Linked DNA regions of Homo sapiens: region 1 is linked to region 2. The links are contacts of gene promoters, found by promoter capture Hi-C in human tissues and cell types (Jung and others, 2019). All regions are on one chromosome and are shown on one strand. Each heading gives the region's core, a stretch centred on a gene start or on the middle of the fragment in contact. The rest is flanking DNA. Distances are from core to core; before and after follow the strand shown.

Region 1 (7,501 bases), core at 110-2,609, 820 kb before region 2:
CTCAGAAAAAAGGAAGAAAGAAATGTGAAAACTCTGAATGCAAAGAAAATAATTAAGGAGAGAGGCTGTGCAGACAGGGGCTGCCCTTCTCACCAGACAAGCCCCATCCTGTTGTGTGTGTAATCATCACCCTGAGTTTCCTTAGCAGACTAACCTCCCAGCATGCCTTATTGGCTCCATGCACCAGGTGAACCAAAAGATTGCTGACATAAATCTGCGTACCGAGCCGTCGGCCAACAGCCTGGTGAGTTACCTATGCTGGAGCTGAGACAAAGCTTCTGACAGGGAAGGGCCCCGGGGATCATCAAGGTGTTGCAGTGCCCTGGGGCCTCTCCATTTATTTGAAAACATGTTTACACAATTGAGTATTCAAAGTTAATTTTTTTAAAAATTAATAAACATTTTTTATTTTTTTTTGAGATGGAGTCTCGCTTTGTTGCTAGGCTAGAGTGCAGTGGCACAATCTCGGTTCACTGCAACCTCTGTCTCTTGGGTTCAAGCGATTCTCCTGCCTCAGCCTCCCGAGCAGCTGGGACTACAGGTGCGTGCCACCATGCCCAGCTAATTTTTGTATTTTTTAGTAGAGACGGGGTTTCACCATGTTGGCCAGGATGGGCTCGCTCTCTTGACTTCGTGATCTGCCCGCCTTGGCCTCCCAAAGTGCTAGGATTACAGGCGTGAGCCACCGCGCCCGGCCAATAAACTTTATTTATTTATTTTTGAGACAGAGACTTGCTCTGTCGCCAGACTGGAGTGCAGTGGTGCGATGTTGGCTCACTGCAACCTCCGCCTCCCTTTCAAGTGATTTTCCTGCCTCAGCCTCCCGAGTAGCTGGGACTACAGCCGTGTGCCACCATACCCGGCTAATTTTTTGTATTTTTGGTAGAGAAAGGGTTCCACCATGTTGGTCAGGCTGGTCTCAAACTCCCCACCTCAAGTGATCCACCCACCTCAGTCTCTCAAAGTGCTGGGATTACAGGCGTGAGCCACCACGCCCGGCCTAAACTTTATTTTTTAGAGCAATTATAAGTTCACAGCGAAATCGAGCAGAGAGTACACTTTTTTCATACACCCTCTGCTCCTGCGCATGCACAATCTCCCCCACTGTTGACATTCCATAAGATAGTGGCACATTAGTTAGAATTAACGGACCTACATTGTTACATCATCATCACTCGACATTCAGAGTTTACAATAGGATTCTTGGTGTTGTACATTCTACGAATTTGGACAAATGATGACATGTATCTACCATTGTAGTGTCACACAGCATAGTTTCGCTGTCCCAACAGTCCTCTGTGCTCCACCTGTTCACCTCTTTAATGACATGTATCTACCATTGTAGTGTCACACAGCATAGTTTCGCTGTCCCAACAGTCCTCTGTGCTCCACCTGTTCACCTCTTTAATGACATGTATCTACCATTGTAGTGTCACACAGCATAGTTTCGCTGTCCCAACAGTCCTCTGTGCTCCACCTGTTCACCTCTTTTTACTCCCTAACCCCTGGGAACCACTGTTGTTTTTACTCTCCCCAGTTTTACCTTTCCCATAATGCCATATAGTTGGAATCATATAGTACGTAGCCTTTTTACGTTGGCTTCTTTCACTTAGTATGCTTTTTAGTTTCCTCCACATCTTTTTTTTTTTTTTTTTTTTTTTGAGATGGAGTCTCACACTCTCGTCCAGGCTGGAGTGCAGTGGCGTGATCTCGGCTCACTGCAAGCTCTGCCTCCCGGGTTCACACCATTCTCCTGCCTCAGCCTCCCGATAGCTGGAACTACAGGCGCCCGCCACCACGCCAGGCTAATTTTTTGTATTTTTAGTAGAGACGGGGTTTCACCATGTTAGCCAGGGTGGTCTCGATCTCCTGACCTCGTGATCCGCCCGCCTCAGCCTCCGAAAGTGCTGGGATTACAGGCGTGAGCCACTGCGCCTGGCCAGTTCCCTCTGGGAACAACCCATCTTTTCATGGCTTGATAGTTCATTTCTTTTTAGTGCCAAATATTCCATTGTCTGAACGTACCATGGTTTATTTGTCCACTACTCAGGGACATCTTGGTTGCCTCCAAGTTTTGGCAATTACAGATAAAACTGCTGTAAGCATCCATGTCCAGGTCTTTGTGTGGGCATAAGTTTTCACTTCATGTAAGTAAATACCAGGGAGCACAATTGCTAGATCCTATGGTGAGAGTTTAGTTTTGTAAGAAACCGGCAAACGCTCTTCCAAAGTGGTGTTAACATTTTTCCTTCCCACCCGCAGTGGATGAGGGTTCTTGCGGCTCCACGTTCTCACCAGTATTTGGTGTTGTCAGTGTTCTAGATTTTGGTCATTCTGATTGCTGCGTAGTGGTATCCCATTGCTGTTTTAGTTTTCATTTCCCCAGGGACATCCGTCTTTTTATGTGCTTATTTATAGTCTGCAGATCTTCCTTGTTGAGGTGTCTGTTCAACCTTTAGCGCCAACCCCCACCCACTATTTTTTTTTTTTTGAGACAGAATCTTGCTCTGTCACCCGGGCAGGAGTGCAGTGGCGTGATCTTGGCTCACTGCAACCTCTACCTCCCAGGTTCAAGTGATTCTCCTGCCTCGGCCTCCTGAGTAGCTGGGATTACAGGCACCCACCACCACTCCCGTCTCATTTTTTGTATTTTTAGTAGAGACTGGGTTTCACCATGTTGGCTAGGCTGGTCTCGACCTCCTGACCTCAGGTGTTCCACCCGCCTCGGCCTCCCAAAGTGCTGAGATTACAGGCGTGAGCCACCATGCCCAACCTTTAGCCCATTTTTAAATCAGGTTATTTTCTTATTGTTGAGTTTTAAGATTTCGTTTAATATTTTGTTTTGGGTTGTTTTTTTGTTTTTGTTTTTTTGAGACGGAGTCTCACTCTGTCACCCAGGCTAGAGTGCAGTGGTGCAATCTGGACTCACTGCAACCTCCACCTCCTGGGTTCAAACGATTCTCCTGCCTCAGCCTCCCTAATAGCTGGGATTACAGACATGTGGCACCACGCCCAATTAATTTTTGTATTTTTAGTAGAGACAGGGTTTCACCATGTTGGCCAGGCTGGTCTCAAACTCCCGACCTCAAGTGATCCGCTCACCTTGGCCTCCCAAAGTGCTGGGATTACAGGCGTGAGCCACCACGCCCGGCCTCTTTGAATATTTTGGGTAACAGCCTTTTGTTGGATTTTCTTGCAAATATTTTCTCCTAATATGTGACTTGTCACTTCATTCTCTTGACAGTGTCTTTTCACAGAGCAGAAATTTTTAATTTTAACGAAATCTAACTTATCATTTCCTTCATGGATTGTACCTTCTGTGTCATATCTAAAAAGTCATGGCCAAACCCAAGGTCACCTAGGTGTTCTCCTCTTGTCTTCTAGGGGTTTTATAGTTTTATGTTTACATTTGATTTTGATTCATTTTGAGTTCATTTTTGTGATGGCTGGAGTTTTTACCTCTCAGGGTGTCTACACTGAGCCTCCAGAATTCATTTATGACAGTTTTGGCTTTGCTACTGGTTCCCATGGAGGTTTCTGCCCATGGGTTTATTCTCCTGCCAGTTGGCATTCTCTGTATCTACCTACCTGTCTGTTCAGTTTTCAGGCAGTAGTTTGCCCTGTGACCTCACTTCTCTGAATGATCTAAGAAGAGTTGTTGATTTTTCAGTTTATTCAGCTTTACTTATTATTGGGACAGAATGGTGACTTATGAGATCCTTACATGTGGACCTGAAATGAGAAGTCTGAAGGTTAATTTTGGTACATTTTTATTGGGAAAAAATACAAACCCTTCAATAATTCTCAAACACACGCGCACACACACGTGCGCACACACACACACACACACACACACACCTTTTCGGGAGGCAGGAGTGCTAAATGTTAAGCAAGTAGCTGTTGTGTAGCAGGCTCCCACAAGATGGAAGAACACAGGCGTGAATCATCTGTAAGTGTCTTTTTGGCTATTTTGGGTTTTGGCAATGTCGTGTATTTGTTTCTTATTTTTAACTGCACTTAAGAAATCTGAGGCATAAATCTAAAGAGCTCTAAGATATGGAGATAGAGAGATTTGAAAATGAGAGCAGCAAAGAAATGTCAACCAACAAGTCGCTACTAAAGACCTGCTTCTCGATGGTGGCTATGAGGCAGAGGATTACAATGATGAAGATGTACTCTTTGAGAGATCCTGTGAGCTGCAGGCAAGTTCGCCTGCAGGTTTTTCTCTCTTTGTTTTGTTTTTTTTTTTTTTTTTGAGATGGAGTTTCACTCTTGTCGCCCAGGCTGGAGTGCAATGGTGCGATCTCAGCTCACTGCAACCTCCGCCTCCCAAGTTCAAGCAATTCTCCTGCCTCAGCCTCCCAAGTAGTGGGATTATAGGCACGTGCCACCACGCCCGGCTAATTTTTTATTCAGGAGCCACTATAAATGCATAAAAAATTCAGGACCCAATGCAGACCCAGGAAATAAGCATCTCTAATGCAAAGGCCCGGGAATCTGTGTATTTGAATACTTCCCCAAAATGCCGGTCATTGGTCCGGTTTGGGAGTTGCCTTCCTGGAGAACAGCCCTGCTTGTAGGCCCTGAAGTCATCTCAAAGGTAAACTCAGCCCAGTGCTGGTCTTACCATCTTTCCCCCCAAAACTTGCTCTTCTTTCAGCATTCAACTATCCTTTCTCTCCCCTCTTTCTGTGCAAATCTTATCCATCCTTCCAGGCCATACAGTGTCTGCTATAATGACATTGGTAAAGATCAGAGATATTGCTATATTGCTACAGTGACTCATACCCATCCAATTCATTCCTCATGCCTTAAATTTCAGCTTACTTAATTGGAGCAACAATGTTAATACATAGACTAACCCCTGTGACCGCCCCCCCACCACTGGCACACACACATACACACACCCCTGCACACATGCCCAGTACCTTTCACTCATGCAGACCAGGGAGTGCTGATGCAAGGGAAAGATGGGGGAGGCCTGGAGAGGTATTTCCCAGTTTATCAAGCTCAGGAGCCTGATGCCACCAACACTCATGTCCACCTCTTCTGGACAGTCCTCTGTGACTGCTCTGGCCCACGTTGACCTCACTTTGATTCGTAATCACAGCAGTTTAGCATTTAATTGTTCCACGAGTGCTGATTTGGCTCTCCAAATAGAGTGTAAGTCCCTTGAGGGCAAAAACACAGACTCATACTTGTTTGTTAACTTTGTTATCCAAGCTCATTGCTGGACTCTTGGTTGACAATCAATGCAACTTGGGTCACTAGCATTCATTTTTCTGTCTTCCTTTTCAGGGGCGTAGGAGGATGGGGGTGGGGAAGAGTCAGAGATCAAGAGAAGTCTCTCTTGAGAGGTCAAGGGTAGATAATAGAGACCCCTTATTGAACAGCTCCTATCTGGTAGCCTCTTTGCCAGTGTTTTAAAATACATTAAACACTTTATTTTTGACCCTTATAAGAACCCTAGAAGAGGCTGGACGTGGTGGCTCACACCTGTAATCCCAGCACTTTGGGAGGCCGAGGTGGGCAGATGAGGAGGTCAGGAGATCAAGACCATCCTGGCTAACACGGTGAAACCCCATCTCTACTAAAAATACAAAAAATTAGCCGGGCGTGGTGGCAGGCGCCTGTAGTCCCAGCTACTCGGGAGGCTGAGGCAGGAGAATGGGGTGAACCCAGGAGGCGGAGCTTGCAGTGAGCCGAGATTGCACCACTGCATTCCAGCCTGGGCAACAGAGCGAGACTCCGTCTCAAAAAAAAAAAAGAACCCTGGAAGATAGATATTATTATCCCCCTTTTACAAAGAGATTAAACAATAGCTTGTTTAATTTCTAATTCCTGCTCTAAATCACATACTCCTAGAAGAAGGGGCAGTGTGAGACAGTGGGGACACTCTGGGGGATGATGTCAGTGACACTGAGGCCACCAGGACCTACCACCTGGAAAGACAAGGCACTGTCCACAAACTTTGCTCCAGGTCTTTTGTGCACCAACAAGAGGAAACGCCTAGACCCTAACCCCACCCTTCTCCAGGATTTGCATTAATCCCTAATGCCCCCCTTTTTCTTGGTTTTTGAAGGCAATTGAGAGATTTGAGTTGGAGAAGAAGGCTTTAAGAGAGAAAACTCGCAGCAGTCCAGAAGACAAAGGCAAAAACCTTTCCCTCAGCCTTGATGCTCTTTTCATGGGGTTTGTTTTTTTAGTATCTAAAATGCAACTGAGTAGGAATCCCAAGTTTCAGATGAGGATGTTTCTGTCTTCTTCTGAAGGAGCCTTAAATCTGACTTCTTGACATTGGGCAAGGAAGGAGGGAGGGGCAGTACCATTTAGAGACCACCTACATGTGGCACCAGGTGCTTTTATCCACATTCCCTTGGTTTTTTTTTTTTTTTTTCGAGACGGAGTCTCGCTCTGTCTCCCAGGCTGGAGTGCAGTGGCGTAATCTCTGCTCACTGCAACCTCCGCCTCCCGGGTTCAAGCAATTCTCCTGCCTCAGCCTCCTGAGTAGCTGGGATTACAGGGGCTCGCCACCGTGCCTGGCTAATTTTTGTATTTTAGTAGAGATGGGGTTTTACCATGTTGGCCAGGCTGTTCTTGAACTCCTGGCCTCAAGTGATCCGCCTGCCTCAGCCTCCCAAAGTGCTGGGATTACAGGTGTGAGCCACTGTGCCCGGCCCCTTGTTAAATTTTTATAACACCTGGGAAGTAGGTACCATTTAATATATTTTATAGATGAGGAAACAGCCTTGGAGGGAGGGGAGTAACTTACCTAAAGTCACAGTCTGTCTGCTCCTCCTTGCTGCTTCTCTGGATCAAGTGGTCTAATCAGATAAGTCGGCAACACAGTTGGGACCTATGAGACTAGTAGTAGGAGTGTCCTCTGGCAGCTCAAGTGGAATGAAAAAGCACAGTTGTAAGCACCGCACAGCTGTGGACAGACCCTGTGGTTACTCATTTATCTCTTTCTCCATTTTTCTGCAGTCAAGAGACAAAGGAAATCTCAGTATTCCTGCAAAGGCTCCGAACTCAGACATGCCAGATCTTCTGTTATAAAAAGGGTAAGGGATCTACTGCTGTGTCTGTTTCTGACCGGCTTCTGCTAGGCATGAAATAAAGATTTTATTCCTGGGGAGGAGAATACTTGGTGCCTGGGTAGTGATTATGAAGGAAAAATCGCAGAGCTCCTGAATCTAGAATTTCTCATAACACCCTTACAACAGCAGAGCTGACCCCAGCCTCAGAATAGGGAAGGTGACAGAGGTCATGTGTCTGTTTATTTTTAGAACTTAGAAGGTGTCTCTGCTCAGAGATGTTCAGGTCTAATCCAGAGCCACTGTGCCATGCAGCTTCAAGGGGCTGTCCACACTGCAGGCTCCTGTGCAGCTGCTCTGAGTCACACCCCATGCTAGTTGTACCACTGCAGAGTTGCTGCGGATGCCTCAGGAAGCTGAGATTCAGGAGCAGAAGGTGACTTGTCACAGGGTCATGCAGCTCACTG
Region 2 (6,943 bases), core at 3,796-6,295:
TGTCATCTGGGACACGTCTCTCCTCCTTACCCTCCAACAGTCACCAAGTCCTAGCAATTGTACCTCCTAAGTGGCTGACCCATCTGTCCATGTCTCCCCACCACTTCCAATACCTCTATGTCTTTCTCTCTGGATTCTCACACGAGCCTCCTGACTGACCTCTCTGCTCCAGTCAGCACACTCTGTACTTCCTCCCTATGAAAGCCTGCCTGGGCAGCCAGAAAGAGCTCCCTAAAGAGTAAATCTTTTTTTTCTTTTTTGAGACAGAGTCTTGCTCTGTCACCCAGGCTGGAGTGCAGTGGCGCGATCTTGGCTCACTGCAACCTCTGCTGCCTGGGTTCAAGCGATTCTCCTGCCTCAGCCTCCCGAGTAGCTGGGATTACAGGTGTGTACCACCAAGGCCGACCAATTTTTTTTTTGTATTTTTAGTAGAGATGGGGTTTCAGCATCTTGGCCAAGCTGGTCTTGAACTCCTGACCTAGTATCCACCCGTCTCAGCCTCCCAAAGTGCTAGGATTACAGGCGTGAGCTACTGCGCCAGGCCCCCTAAAGAGTAATTTTTTTTTTTTTTTGAGACGGAGTCTCGCTCTGTCCCCCAGGCTGGAGTGCAGTGGCGTGATCTCGGCTCACTGGAAGCTCTGTCTCCCGGGTTCACGCCATTTTCCTGTCTCAGCCTCCCGAGTAGCTGGGACTACAGGCACCTGCCACCACGCCCAGCTAATTTTTTGTATTTTTAGTAGATATGGTGTTTCACTGTGTTAGCCAGGATGGTCTCGATCTCCTGACCTCGTGATCCGGCCAGGCCTCTTCTTAAGAGGTTTGCACAAACAGGAAGGTAAGAAGGTTGTAGAATCCAAACCTCCTTCCAACTAAGAAAAGTGCCTTTCCAGGTCCCCAGGGCTGCCCCAGGCTCAGCCCTACACTTGACAGAGGGCTCAGATCAGGAGGGTTCTCTCAGGCCCTGGGGAGCAGTGGCCAGGACTCAATTCAGCCTCCGCTCCGACCCTCTTGCCTGCCTTGGGCTCTACTGGACACACAATTCTCTCCTGAGTTATTATTATTACGACCATCTGCTCTTCCAAGTGTTTCATTAGCCCCCTGAAGCAAACCTCGGAGCCTCGGGAACCAAGCCCAAGCCTGGCAGCAGGCCATCCATCTTCCTGCCAAGTCCACGGCAAAAATATCTTCCCAGTCCTAGGCCAGGCCTCGTTGGCTTTCCTCAACAGAGCTCACGGAGCAGACTCTTTACCAGTCTCCTCACTTCCAAGAAGGGCCCAGGAGAACCCACCTGATCGGAGTCCTCTGCCAAGTCTAGGCCTCCATTCCAGCTTGTACACAGCAGCCCTGGGAGCTTTCTGAACTGCACATCTGATAGGCCCCCTCCTCTCCTGAAAACCTTCAGTGGCATCACCATCTGCCTGAAGGATGAAGCTCCTGCCCTCCAGGCCTCCCCTGCCCCAATCTCTCCCTGCCTCAGCTGCAGGAGCCACTTACTGCCCTGCACGTCCCCTGCCTTGCACAGGCTGTTGCTCTACCTGGCATGCCCCTCCCCACCTTTGTCCAAGAAAATACATGTCAAATGTTACCTCTGGGCCGGGCGCGGTGGCTCACGCCTGTAATCCCAGCACTTTGGGAGGCCAATGCCGGCGGATCGCTTGAGGTCAGGAGTTCAAGACCAGCCTGGCCAACACGGTGAAACCCCATCTCTACCAAAAAATAAAAATAATAAAAAAATACAAAAATTAGCCGGGTGTGGTGGCATACGCCTATAGTTGCAGCTAGTCGGGAGGCTGAGGCAGGAGAATCGCTTGAACCTGGGAGGCGGAGGTTGTCTTGAGCCAAGATTGTGCCACTGCACTGCAGCCTGGATAACAATCTCTCTCTCTCTCTCAAAAATAATAATAATAATAATAATAGAAAAAAAAAGAAAAAGTTACACAGCCATGGGTTTGTATCCAACCTCTGCCAAACACCAGCGGTGTGGCAAATCACTAAATCTCTATGATCCTTGATTTCTACATCTGTAAAATGGGGCTAAACAGCCGGGCACAGTGGTTCACGCCTGTTATCCCAGCACTTTGGGAGGCCGAGGCGGACGGATCATCTGCGGTCAGGAGTTCAAGACCAGCCTGTCCAAAATGGTGAAACCCCATCTCTATTAAAAAAAAAAATTAGTCGGATGTGGTGGTGGGCGCCTGTAATCCCAGCTACTCTGGAGGCTGAGGCAGGAGAATTGCTTGAACCCGGGGGACGGAGGTTGCAGTGAGCCGAGATGGCGCCACTGTAGTCCAACCTGGGAGACAAAACTCTGTCTCTAAAAGACAAAAAAAAAAAAAAAAAAAAAGGAAAGGTTAATCATATCTATTTGCAAAGCTGTTTTGACAAAGAATGTAGCATGAGGCATATGGTACCTGCTTAATAAATGTTTTTAGAGACAAGGTCTTGCTTTGCTGTCTAGGCTGGAATGCAGTAGCGTGATCATGGCTCACTGCAGCCTTGAACTGCTGCCTCAAGCGATCCTCCCGCCTCGACCTCCCAAAACGCTGAGATTACAGGCATGAGCCAAGCGCCTGGTCCCACTTAAATATTAGCCATTTATTAGCTGTTGATGTTAAATTACCTAGGACTGAGCTTGGAACCAAGAAGGAGATAGTTAAGAGGTGGTGGAGGAAGCAGGGCCTAGGTGTCACCCAGTTGGAAGAATGGGCAGAGGGACTGCCAGGCTGGCTCTGGGCAGGCTCTGGGGGCTGCCCTGCTGGGGGCGGGCTGTGCTGTTCATATTCACACCCAGGGGTGTCCACTGGGCTGGTGCTCCGCTGTGGAGCGGGGACAAGTCGCTCCACTCAACGCCCCTCAGAGAGCTCGTGGCATTGCCCCATCCCTGGCCCGGTGGCGTCCCGCCTTCGGAGAACGGGAGTGAGACAGACGGACACAGGCGGAGTCCAGGCGGCAGGGTTTATTCCGGTCCTCGGGCAGCCTCTCCGCCGTGGACGGGTCCCTCCCTGGGCTCCGGGCCCTGGCCGCCACCAGCCAGCAGCCTCCCGCTAGGCCGGGCGTCTCCGGGGCAGCCGGGTGGGCCCGAGGACGCGGGGCGGACGCGACGCAAGGCGCGGCGGGCACGGTGGCGGCGTCGGCGGCCGCACGGCCACAGGCGGCGGAAGCGCGCGCGGAAGTGGCGCGAGGCGAGCGCGTAGACGAGCGGGTTGAGGCAGGAGTTGGCGTAGGCCAGGCAGTGTGAGGCCAGGCGGCAGGCGTAGGTGGCCGGGCTGAAGGCGAAGCGGCCGTACCAGAAGCACAGGATGAGCGCGTGGTGCGGACCCCAGCAGAGCGCGTAGAGCGCGGCCACCGCCAGCATGGCGCGCCCCGCGCGGCCCGTCGCCCTCCGCCGCGCCTCGGCCGCCGCCGCGCCCGCGGGACCCACGGCGGCCCACAGGAAGCGCAGCGTGCGCCCGTAGGCCAGGCTCACCACAGCCACGGGCAGCAGGTAGCCGGCAGCGAAGGTGGCCACGTCCAGGGCGCGGCGGCGCGCGTCCTCCCAGGCGGGCACGCAGAGCTCCAGCGCGCCGTAGCGCACGGTGCCGTAGTAGCTGAGGTAGGGCGCCGAGAAGAGCGCCGCCAGCAGCCACACCAGCCCCACTGCGGCGCGGGCGTTACGCGGCGTGCGCAGGGCGCGCGAGCGCAGCGGGTGCCGCACGGCCAGGTACCTGCGGAGGGCGCCTGGTCAGCGGGGCGGGCAGGTGCCCTCCCGCAGGGGCCCGCGCCACGTCCCGCGCCCGGGCCCTGCGGCCCAGTGCGCCTCCTGTGAACCGTGGGGGACGTGGCGGGGATTAAGGGTGTGAACGCGCAAGGTGCTTAGGCCCTTGCACCTAGCAAGGGCCCGATCCCGGTGACTTGTTATTTCTAGGATTATTTTATGGATGCGTCAGATGAGGTCCAGAGAGAAGTGACTTGCCCAGGGTCATCAGCTGGAGTGAGCCTGGATTTGACCCCAAGTTTCAAGCTGTGGAAGCAGATGTGTGCACAGCTTGGCCAGGTGTGGGCAGTTAGAAAATAGCTGGGCTGGGCGCGGTGGCTCACGCCTGTAATCCCAGCACTTGGGAGGCCGAGGCGGGCGGATCACTTGAGGTCAGGGGTTCGAGACCAGCCTGTCCAACATGGCAAAACCCCGTTTCTACTAAAAATACAAAAAATTAGCCAGGTGTGGTGGCCTGTAATCCCAGCTACTCAGGAGGCTGTGGCAGGAGAATCGCTGGAACCCAGGAGGCAGAGGTTGCAGTGAGCCAAGATCCAAAAAAAAAAAACAACAAAACAAAACAAAACAAAAAAACTGATGAACGCATTCGTGAGCTTCTTTTGCGATTCATTTCGCGCTTACAGAGCACTTACTATGTGCCAGACCCTGTGCTGCCACTTGAGACTCAGAGGCGTCCTCTGGAAGTTCACAGTGGAGGAGGGGAAGGGCAGGACAGTCCCCTCAAGCACGCCCTGCAGGTGCCCAGAGGCTGCTTGCGAGGGGTCAGGGAGCTTTTGTTTCCTCCCACCCACCTCCCTTTCTGGTCCCCCACTCTCTCCTTCCTAAGGCCAGTGAGGATCTGTTCAGGACTCCTCCCCCAACCCCCGCCCCCACAGCCCTGCCCAGCCAGGCCCCAGGCACAGCGCACCTGTCCACGGAGACAGCAGCCAGCGTAAAGCTGCTGGCGTACATGGTGAGGTAGATGAGCAGGTGCACGGCCTTGCAGACGAGGGCCCCAAAGAGCCAGGCATCCAGCGTGTAGATGGTGGCCTGGAAGGGCACGCAGCACAGGATGAAGCAGAGGTCAGCCACCGCCAGGTTGAGGATGAACAGGTCCGTGGTGCTGCCAGGCTCCTGCCAGGCACTCGGGCCAGGCTGCAGGAGCACTGCCAGCACCAGCCCATTGCCCACTGTGCCCAGCAGGAAGATTAGGGCAAAGACCACAGGCACTGCCACGGCCCCCACACTCCCTGGGCTGTCCAGTGAAATGTTCTGGGCATCAGCCATCTCCCCATCAGACGGGCACCTGGGAAGAGAAGCTGGAATCCTCAGGCAAGAGCCCCCAGTTCTGGTTGCTTGACCCCGGGATCTAACTCCCCCGACCTGGGTCTGGCCAGGTGTTCTGGGCTGGAAGCTCGTGGGAGATGGAGGAGGGGAGAGCAGAGCCAAAGTCATCGCTGAGTGTCACTGTGTGAGCAAGCTCGTGGTGTTCAAGGGGTGAGAGTTCCTCAGTTTCCTAAGGAACACCCCTGGAGTCCTGCCTGGAGGACTACCTAGGTATTTGAGGGACACTTTCAACCCACGAGGCTGGGGAAGGCACAAGCGAAGTAGGATGAAGATATGGCGATGGGGGGAGGGGCCAAACCCAGAAACTGGTATGTTTTCCTTCTCAATGGGGATCTGAAGCTCAGGGGAGACCCTGGGACATGGGTTTAGGGCTTTCTCTGGCTACAAGCTGTAGCCTTAGCAAAACACGGGTAACATCCCTGAGTCATTGGAGGGTCCAGTATAGTGAGATCATCACAATGGCAAAACTGGGAAGACCGTGTAGGTCACTGCTTCCTCTCTGCACATAGGGAAATTGAGGCCCAGAGAGGGGACATGGGAGGATAATATCACACTCGAAATGGCAGCTCTGGGGCTGTTGCCACCCTGGTATCCTGCCTCTTAAGCTAGAGTGCTCATCTGAGAGCTTGTAACAGGTGGTGCCTCTGACAACTTGTGTGTGTGCACACCGCACCCATGCTCACCCCCATCCCACTCTACAGCCCATGTCTCCTACTGCCTGTGGATCTCCTTGCAGGCTTGAGACCACTGGGGTGGTGGGACAAAGTAGGGGAAAGGGGGGTCAGGCAGGGAGTAGGGAAGAAAGGCAATGTCTGCCCCCATCCCAGCACCCAGCATGCAGTAGGTCCCCAAAGCCCAGGATGGGCAACACCCACCTCCGCCTTGGGCAGTGGGCTTGATCCTGGGTGGAATGGCCGGGCTGGGTGGGCCTCCTGATTCAGCGGCTGCCCCTTGGTGCCTCCCTGCAGGTACTGGTCTGCCTTCTACTTCTCCCCCTTTGCCTTTAAGGCCCCTCCTCTCCTCTGCCCCCTCTGCTGAGCCGGAGTTGGGCACTCCCTCTGGAGTAGCCACTGGCCACTTCCTCCTCAGTCCCTGATTTCCCCCAGGTGGCAGGCTCTTCTGCCTGGCTCTTCTCTGCCTCTCTGCGTTGCTGCTGCCTTTTCCTCTCTCTGCAGCCAGTAACCCATTGATCTCGCTCTCTGTGATTTGCTTTGTAGTTAACCCCTCTGTGCCCAGGGCCCAGCCAGTCTCTGGCACTCCCACCTCCTGTGGCCCAGCCTGATGTGACTCCATCCCCTATCCCTGCACCTTCTTGCTCCAATCCATGTTTAGAAAAGGTTCCTAGGCCGGGCATGGTGGCTCACGTCTGTAATCCCAGCACTTTGGGAGGCTGAGGCAGGCAGATCACTTGAGGCCAGGAATTCGAGACCAGCCTGGCCAATGTGGCGAAACCTTGTCTCTACTAAAAATACAAAAATTAACTGAGCGTCGTGGCGGGCGCCTGTAATCCCAGCTACTCTGGAGGCTGAGGCAGGAGAATCGCTTGAACCTGGGAGGTGGAGGTTGCAATGAGCCGAGATGACGCCACTGCACTCCAGCCCAGGTGATGGAGTGAGACATTGTCTCAAAAAAAAAAAAAAAAAAAAAAAGAAGAGGCTGGGCGCGGTGGCTCATGCCTGTAATCCCAGCACTTTGGGAGGCCAAGACAGGTGGATCATGAGGTCAGGAGTTCAAGACCAGCCTGGCCAAGATGATGAAACCCCATGTCTACTAAAAATACAAAAATTAGCTGGGTGTGGTGGCGGGCACCTGTAATCCCAGCTGCTCGGGAGGCTGAGGCAGAGAATTGCTTGAAGCCAGGGG

Evidence for each region. Contacts are between HindIII fragments. The study calls those that stand out against the background at their distance.
Region 1: a contact is called between a fragment that was not itself captured here and the fragment with the promoter of GALR3 in region 2, in 1 of the 25 tissues and cell types used here (spleen).

The regions. Positions count from the first base shown.
Region 1 is chr22:38,638,306-38,645,806 of GRCh38, reverse strand. It overlaps FAM227A (family with sequence similarity 227 member A), which reads left to right. Exons shown (of 17, transcript NM_001013647.2): 3 at 162-244; 4 at 6,083-6,152; 5 at 6,985-7,061. Among named protein-coding and RNA genes, the nearest start is that of FAM227A, 14 kb to the left of the region's middle. The HindIII fragment of the contact is 6,838 bases long and covers 1-4,778 here.
Region 2 is chr22:37,821,484-37,828,426 of GRCh38, reverse strand. GALR3 (galanin receptor 3) reads right to left here and starts at 5,045. Exons shown (of 2, transcript NM_003614.2): 1 at 4,662-5,045; 2 at 2,942-3,704. The coding sequence starts at 5,020. The coding sequence ends at 2,957. The HindIII fragment of the contact is 28,947 bases long and covers 1-6,943 here.